Regions from separate parts of the Homo sapiens genome. Here region 2 is linked to region 1. Evidence: promoter capture Hi-C in human tissues and cell types (Jung and others, 2019). All regions are on one chromosome and are shown on one strand. Each heading gives the region's core, a stretch centred on a gene start or on the middle of the fragment in contact. The rest is flanking DNA. Distances are from core to core; before and after follow the strand shown. Region 1 holds the start of KLLN (killin, p53 regulated DNA replication inhibitor). Region 2 overlaps MINPP1 (multiple inositol-polyphosphate phosphatase 1).

Evidence for each region. Contacts are between HindIII fragments. The study calls those that stand out against the background at their distance.
Region 2: a fragment that was not itself captured here is called in contact with the fragment with the promoter of KLLN in region 1 in 1 of the 25 tissues and cell types used here (IMR-90 fibroblasts).

What each region holds. Positions count from the first base shown.
Region 1 is chr10:87,862,255-87,866,533 of GRCh38, reverse strand. It overlaps KLLN (killin, p53 regulated DNA replication inhibitor), which reads left to right and starts at 3,001. Exons shown (of 1, transcript NM_001126049.2): 1 at 3,001-4,279. The coding sequence starts at 4,047. It overlaps MLDHR (mitochondrial lactate dehydrogenase regulator), which reads right to left and starts at 2,975. Exons shown (of 1, transcript NM_001433720.1): 1 at 2,880-2,975. The coding sequence starts at 2,975. The coding sequence ends at 2,880. It overlaps PTEN (phosphatase and tensin homolog), which reads right to left and starts at 2,909. Exons shown (of 9, transcript NM_000314.8): 1 at 1,986-2,909. The coding sequence starts at 2,064. RefSeq lists silencers at 2,615-2,754, 2,845-3,154 and enhancers at 3,755-3,934, 4,185-4,274. The HindIII fragment of the contact is 9,209 bases long and covers 1-4,279 here.
Region 2 is chr10:87,542,219-87,546,497 of GRCh38, reverse strand. All of the region lies in intron 4 of MINPP1 (multiple inositol-polyphosphate phosphatase 1), which reads right to left. Among named protein-coding and RNA genes, the nearest start is that of MINPP1, 39 kb to the right of the region's middle. The HindIII fragment of the contact is 4,515 bases long and covers 1-4,279 here.

The DNA of each region.
Region 1 (4,279 bases), core at 1,752-4,251:
TTTTTTTCAAAGTTACATAAACATTTAATTTTTTGTTCCTATATATTTGGATGACTGTCAGTAATTCATGCTAATAGTAGACTGCTTTGGAAGTCACAAAAGAATTTTTCCATAATTATCTTCTGGGCAAGCGGGTCCAGTTTAGCCTTAGTAACATTCTCAATTAATGTCAACTTCAAAATTTGCAAATACTCTTTTAAAATAATATTTTTGGCTTAACAGAAAACTAAATTTTGGGAAGCTACTTCTTCAGTAAGTTTTACATTCATTTCAAAACAAAAACTTGGGCAAAATTAACTGTGCACATTTATATGCAGCTAACATAATCCAACGGAATAAAACCTCTCCCGATATAAACGCTGTCTTAAAAAAAAATATTCCCCACAATTTTTAGCAGGACATATAGACACTGTAGTGTCACTCTACCTTTAGACAAAATGCAACTGACATTTGCTAAGAAATAACTTTTATTAAAAATACTGTGCTAGTACTTATGCAATTACATAATTTTAACTAAATATTGTCCACTGCCACAATTCGCATTACCAAACTCATATTACCAAATTTTAGGCCTTGATAGAGCCTAAATGCTTCAGTCACTTCAGACCAATAACTTAATTCTGTTTTCACATACCTTATACACTGGCCTACCAATAGCTCTCAATTCCTGTCAATACTTTCCCCATTCTGCAAAAAGAGGGCCCCATCCCCATCCCTAATCAAAACCAATGTGTTGTACCTGAAACTGCAAAGATTAATGCTTTTCGATGACCACTAACTTTTGAAGCCCGAAGGCCTAACTTTTAGACAACTAAAGCTACACACTGTTAAAATTCTTGGGCTTCTGTCTTATTCAGCAAGCTGACTCAGTAAATTTAATACACTGTATGAAAAAAGCTAACATACCTACAATCTAAAGCTGGAGTAAACCCCTCTTGCCAGCATTTCTAGATATTAGCTGGTAAAATACAACTGACATTCTACACAAATCAGTAAAATTAACGATACCAAAAGGTGTCAGAGGACCTGAAACCTAAAAACGGTGAGCAGCAATTCTGGCATCACAACAATACTTAAATTTCAAGCATGAACTGAAGTTTTATTTCTGCAATCTTCACTTGCTACACACAATACCCTTGAACCTACACATTACCATCTGGGATCAGAAACTACTCAATATCCATTCTATGTTTATGACAAGAGCACTGAACATTAAATGCTACTGAAGTGCAAATTTCAAGCACTATCCTACATCACCCCATAGGGAGAGAAAAAGGTAAATATAACAAAGATCTAGTAAGAACGCCTTATAAGGTATATTATGGCACTATTGACTTCAAACTACAAAACTTCTACATACAGTTCAAAGTTGTAGGTAACTTAAGTTTAAACATTAACAAAACTACTTTTTGCCCTCAATGTGCACCATATATACTGAAAATGATTCTGCTTCTAAAGTTATGCAAATCAGTCATATTTTAAAAGAATCTATCAATGCAACTCAGGAAACTAAAACAATCACTGCAAGATTCTGATGCAATATGCGTACGTGCAACACTAATTTTCATTTTATTCTGATCTAAACCCTTGATCTAGGGCCTAAGCCAAGATTTAATCGAAATATGCTCAACCTCAAAAAGCGTCTACTTTTTTGTTCATTTAGGAGACCGGATTACCGAGCTCGCTAATCCACTAACAGTGTACTGTATTCTGTATTAACGGACAATAGCCCTCAGGAAGAGACCATATAGATAGCCTAAGAAAGCAATCGGTGGCTTGACACTTGCAACCAGGCAAGAGTTCCGTCTAGCCAAACACACCCTAGGTTGAATACACAGAAAGGAAACACAAAATATATGACCTAGCAACCTGACCAGGGTTAAATGTTATAGTCACCCAAACTACGGACATTTTCGCATCCGTCTACTCCCACGTTCTAAGAGAGTGACAGAAAGGTAAAGAGGAGCAGCCGCAGAAATGGATACAGGTCAAGTCTAAGTCGAATCCATCCTCTTGATATCTCCTTTTGTTTCTGCTAACGATCTCTTTGATGATGGCTGTCATGTCTGGGAGCCTGTGGCTGAAGAAAAAGGAGGAGAGAGATGGCAGAAGCTGCTGGTGGCGGGGCTTCTTCTGCAGGATGGAAATGGCTCTGGACTTGGCGGTAGCTGATGCCCCTCGCTCTGCCGCCGCTTGGCTCTGGACCGCAGCCGGGTAATGGCTGCTGCGGCGGCTGCTGGATGGTTGCAGCGACTGGGCCTGCTTCTCCTCAGCAGCCAGAGGCCTGGCAGCGGCGGCAGCGGAATGGGGAGAAGACGAATAATCCTCCGAACGGCTGCCTCCGCCGGCGGCCTCCGGAGCCCGGGCCACGGGGGGTGCGGCGGCGGCGCACGGGAGGTTTAAAACCGGCCCGGGTCCCTGGATGTGCCAGCCGCCGCCGCCGCCGTGTTGGAGGCAGTAGAAGGGGAGAGACCAACTCTCCGGCGTTCCCAGCCCTGGAAATGGTGACAGGCGACTCAGACCCCCTCCCTGGAGCTGCAGCCGCCGCGGCCGCCGCCGCCGCCGCTTCTCCCCCCCGCTCCAGGAGCGGGAGGTGCCGCCGCCGCCGCCGCGCCTCAGCCGGCTCCCGCCCGAGCCCACGGCTTCCACCTTCCCTTTCAGGAGAAGCCGAGGAAGAGGCTGCACGGTTAGAAAAGACGAAGAGGAGGCGAGAAACGCCGCCGCTGCCGCCGCCGCAGGCCGGCCGGCTCCCCGAGGGCGCTGCCCCCGCGGCTGCTCACAGGCGCTGAGAGGGGCTCCGGGCCGCGGCCGCCGCCGTCTCTCATCTCCCTCGCCTGAGCCCGGCCTCGCCTCACAGCGGCTCAACTCTCAAACTTCCATCATGGCTGCAGCTTCCGAGAGGAGAGAACTGAGCGCAGTCGCGTCCCAGCGCCGAGCGCGTATCCTGCCGCAGCGCATAAAGAGTCCCGCCACATCACCGCCCGCCGGCCTGCCCGCCCCCTCCGCCGCCGCGCCGGGAGCCCGGGCGCCTCGGAAGACCGAGGGGAGGCGGGAGGCGAGCGAGAGGCGGACGGGACCGCGCCGGGCGAGGGGAGGGCAGGGCAGGGCAGGGGGCGGTAGGAGGGGGCAGAGCGGTAGCTCTGGGTGCGAGCGCAGAGTCCCCAAGCCGCAGGCTCTACTGAGCATGCCCAGTGTAGCTGCCTGGGGCTTGCTCGGGCCGGTTCCCAGCCGCCAGCCTGCAGCTGCACTTGCTGCGGCTTTTGCAGCAACGCGAGGCGAGGATAACGAGCTAAGCCTCGGCCTCTGCCCAGAAACCCAGCCGGAGGCAGGGTAGGCTGTTGTGGGGCGGGGGTGGAGGACTGATGATGAAAGCTGAGATGGGTGCGTTGAGCAGTGTCACTGACTCGAGTCTGAGGTTACCTGTGCACAGGTGAAAAGGACCAGGTGACCACGCTGCTCAGTGTAGAGGGAAATGCAGGGACGGTCCCTGCAAGGGGAATACCCTCCCCCCTTGCCTCTACCCCTAGATTTCCGCGGCGTGGACTGCATTCGCTCTTTCCTTTTGCACCGCTGTCGGATCACAATCGTTCGCAGAGATTTGACTGTAACAGCCTTTGCCTAGAGATTCCCCCTTCCCCCAAATCTGTGTCCTCATGGTGTCAGTCTTAGCACAAAGAGCAACCTGCTATTGTGTCGCCAGCGTGTATCACCTCATCCGGCTCCCTTGCAGCGCCCCACCTCTCGCTTCCCCGGTAACTCGGCTCGTTTGCCCTAAAAATGAAAGCTCTCAGCCGAGCGTGCTGAACGTGAACACATAGCCGTTGAATTTCAAGGGCCCAAAGGGCACCTATCTAAATGAACTGAAAGAGGATCCCTGTGAGTGGGACGCACCCCGCAGGCCTCTCCTGCGCCCGCTCCGGTGCCCCCAAGAGAGTCGAGCATCTTTCCCCTCGGGCTCCAGGTCGGTTCGCGGCGTCGGAGTCAAGCTCGGTTCTCAGAGACCACCTAGCCCCGCCCCCCCTTGGCCGCCGTGAAAACCCGGCAGGATGGATCGCCCGGGGCCAGGCTCCGCGCGCCCCGGCCGGACCGTGCACGTTTGGGGTTACCGGGTTGAGTGGAAAGTACGGAACGGTAGGAAGCTGCAGCCCAGCGAGTGGGCGGGGCGAGGAGACCTAGGAGGGTTCAAAAGGAGGTGGAAGGATACACGGGCCACAGTCGGAACTACTTTCCGAAGGAGGTCACGTGTGTCCCTAGTTGGGGAACTTTCCAAATTCCCACT
Region 2 (4,279 bases), core at 836-3,335, 320 kb after region 1:
GGCAGAACGTGTTTCTCAAGACACAGGTCACAAGGACCCTGCTGATAAAACAGGATGTGGTAAAGAAGCCAGCCACAACCAGCCAGAATCAAGAGGGCAAAGACAGTGACCTCTGCTCATCCTCAATGATCCTCACTGCTCATTATGTGCTAACTAGAATACACTAGCATGCTAAAAGACACTCCCATCTGTGCCGTGACAGTTTACAGATGCCACGGCAACTCCTGGAAGTTACCCTATAAGGTCTAAAAAGGGAAGGAACTCTTGGTCCTGACAATTCCCTACCCTTTCCCAGAAAACTCATGAATAATCCACTCCTTGTTTAGCATACGATTAATTTATGCTATTATTTATTAATAACCATAAAAAATAGCCAACCAGCAGCCCTCAAGGCTACTCTGCCTATGTGGCAGCCTCCCTTTTATTCCTTTACTTTTTAATAAACTTGCTTTCGCTCTAGTCTTTTGGCTCACTCTTGAATTCTTGCCTCCGTGAAGCCAAGAACCATGTGGCCTCCGGGGCTGAATCCCAATTTTGCCCCACGACATGATCACTAATGATGTAAGCCTCTAAGCAGATGAACAAAGACAAGGGTGTATGCATCTAAATTTTTACTCTTGCTTAGAAGAAAGAGAATATGTCAATAAATGACAACTTTTAGTCATAAAACCAGTATCTGGGCCAAATCTCCAATCAGTAATTAATAGCTATTTGGAACACTGCATTGAGAAGGATTCTGAGGTTGTATCCAGACTCGATGTGATCTATTTCATGCTTCTTACACATTCTACTCTCAATTCATGAACCTCCTCTCCTTGCCAATCTCTCCATCTTTACCTTTGATTTCCTAGATATAACTAAAATGAGTTTGGTCATTTCTAAGACACTGGATTATAAGACATATTAAAAGAAGATATTTTAAGTTAGTATTATGTCCAGGTAAGGTTTCTTAAGAATAAATTTTTTAAAAAGAAAACAAAGTTAATTTTATGATGCTGCATATTTTTTTTTGCTTGACAATATCACTACTGGTGAAGTATAACACAAACATGTATAAAACATATAATCACCTAAAACAAATTATCACTTCAAGACATATGTATAAATCACTCCTAAATGTATGTACACAAATCTTTACTAGATACAGGTAAGAATATACTTGGTTTGGTTTATGTCTTTTTTAAAAAAAAAGTCAAGAAAGCTTGAATATTAAAAATCCCACTTAGAGAAATTTTATCTCAGAGAAAAACAACTTATAAAATAGAAAAAACTGCCATAATAATTCATATAATATGCTATCAACATGAAACCCTAAGGAGGTTTCCTGAAACCTTAAGGAGGACATAGGGTTCATAAAACTGAAACCCTAAGGAGGACTTAAAATTACATTTTAGCAACTACATGTTTTATACAATTTTTAAAATCTGACTTTATTCTTGATTTTCCCATTTCAAAAACAGAATTCACTAAATGTCTAGGTTGAGGTTTCAAGGGTAAGAATTACACACACTCTTAAATAAGTTGCAACAACTAAAAGAATGTTAAGTATTTTTTGCTTTATCTCAAAAGTATTTCCATTACATAACATCTCAGAATATAAATCACTAAAATCTCAAACATAAATGTTTTTCTTTGCTATTTTGTTTTTCTCAGCCTGAATTCAACTTAGTAACCTTTAATGGTTCAAGGGCAAACTAGAATAAAGATAATAAAGATTACTTTGTAAAGTATTACTATTCATAAATAAAGTAATCTTTATTATTATCTTTATTCCTCTAGGCTCCGTAAGAAAGGAGAGAGGCTTCTTTCTTAAGGTTCCAATGATATTGTGAAATATAATATATATTTGGTCTTTGTTCCTGTTTCCTGGTACAAAACTCCTAAAATCCTTGAAATCTCCAAAGTGCTGTCTTTTTGCATGCTCATGTTGATTGATAGCTTCAGGATGGAGCTGGTCAGCAAAAAGGCAAAGGCATGATTACAGGGTTAGCATTTTCAAGCCCATCCCTCAACCTCAGGGAAGAGCAAGAGGGGCTGAAGGTCAAGTTGATCACCAATGGCCAATAGTTTAATTAATCATGTCTAAGTAATGAGGCCTCCATAAGAACCCAAGAGGACAGGGTTTGGAGAGCTTATGGACAGCTGAAAATGTGGAGGTTCCTGGAGGGCGGTGTGGCCCTGGGAGGGCATGGAAGCTCCACATCCTTTCCCCCATACCTCATTTTATGTGTCATTTGTATCCTCTGTAATATTTTATACTAAACTGGTAAACATGTTTTCCTGAGCTCTGTGAGCCACTCCTGGAAATTAAGTGAACCCAAAGAGGGGGCTGTGAAAACCCCAACTTGAAGCCAGTCAGTCAGGTGTTCCAGAGGCCCAGACTTATGACTGGTGTCTGAAAAGGGCAGGGGGCAATCTTGGGGATTGAGTCCTCAACTTGTAAGATCTGATGCTACATCCAGGCAGATAGTGTCAAAATTAGAGGATACCTAGCTGGTGTCTGCTGCTTATTGGTGGGGAACCCCCATCCCCCAACACTGGGTCACAGAAGTTGATATAGTTTGGATGTTTGTCTCCTCCAAATCTCATGCTGAAAAGTGATCCCCAATGTTGAAGGCGGGACCTAGTGGGAGGTACTGAATCATGGGGATGGATCCCTCTTGAATGGCTTAGTGCCATCCCCTTGGTGATGAGTGACTTCTCAGTTCACATGAAATCTGGTTGTTTAAGAGTCTGGGGCCTCCCCCTTCTCTCATAAAACTAACTTTGTTTTCTTTTTAAAAAATTTATTTTTAAGAAACCTTACCTGGACATAATACTAACTTAAAACATCTTCTTTTAATATGTCTTATAATCCAGTGTCTTAGAAATGACCAAACTCATTTTAGTGATCATAGCTCACTGCAACCTTGACCCCTCAGACTCAAACAGTCCTCCCGCCTCTGCCCCTGAGTAGCTGGGACTACAGGCATGCACCACCACACCCAGCTAATTATTTTATTTTTTGTAGAGATGAGGTCTCACTTTCTTGCCCAGAGTGGTCTTGAACTCCTGGGCCCAAGTGATCCTCCTTCCTTGACCTCCCAAAGTTCTGGAATTAACAGGCATGAGCTACTGTGCCCTGGCCATGATAACCTCTTTTTCAGGTGGTTGCTCCACAGCCTGCTAGGATTCTTCTCCTGAAAATACTTTTTCTTTCTCTACCACATGGCTTGACTGAAAATTTTCCAAACTTTTACACTCTGCTTCCCTTTTGTATATAAGTTCTAACTTTAAGTCATTTCTTTGCTCCCATATTAGATCATAGGCTGTTAGAAGCAGCCAGGCCACATCTTGAATGAGGAAAAACTGATGAGGGTATCCCTAGGGCACACAGTACAGCCAGGTTCTTTGCTAGGATGTGACAGGGGTAACATTTGCTCTAGTTCCCAATAACATCCTCACTTCCATCTGGAACCTCATCAGCCTAGACTTCACTGTTCATATCGCTATCAGCATTTTGTTCACAACCATTTAACCAGTCTCTCAGAAGTTCCAAATTTTTCTTCATCTTCCTGTCTTCTTTGCCCTCCAAACTCTTCCAGCCTTTGCCTTTTACCCAGTTCCAAAGCTACTTCCACATCTTCAGGTATCTTTATAGCAGTGCCCCATGCCTTGGTACCAATTTTGTGTTAGTCCGTTTCTGCAATGCTATAAAGAAATACCTGAGACTGGGTAATTTATAAAGAAAACAAGTGTATTTTGGCTTACGGTTCTGCAGGCTGTACAGGAAGCGTGGCTCTAGCATCTGCTTCTGGGGAGGGCCTCAGGAGGCTTACAATCATGACGGAAGGCAAGGGGGAAGCAGGTTTCACATGGCAAGAAGGAAACTGTTTTGAAGCTTTAAGATTTAAAGACTGGCTTGGCAGAGTGGGTCACACCTGTAATCCTAGCACTTTGGGAGGCTGAGGTGGGCAGATCACTTGAGCTCAGGAGGTTAAGACCAACCTGGCCAACATGGCGGAATCCGGTCTCTACTAAAAATACAAAAATTAGCCAGGCATGGTGGTGCACTCCTGAGGTCCTAGCTACCTGGGAGGGTGAGGTGGGAGGATGGCTTGTGCCAGAGAGGTCAAGGCTGCAGTGAGCTGTGATCATGCAGCCTGGGCCAAGAGAGTGAGACTCTGTTTAAAAAAAAAAAGAGAGAGAGAGAGAAAAAGAAAAAGAAAAAAAGATTTAACAACTGCCCTGCTGGTTTCAGATTTGCACAGAGCCTACTGCCCCTTTCTTTTGGCTGATT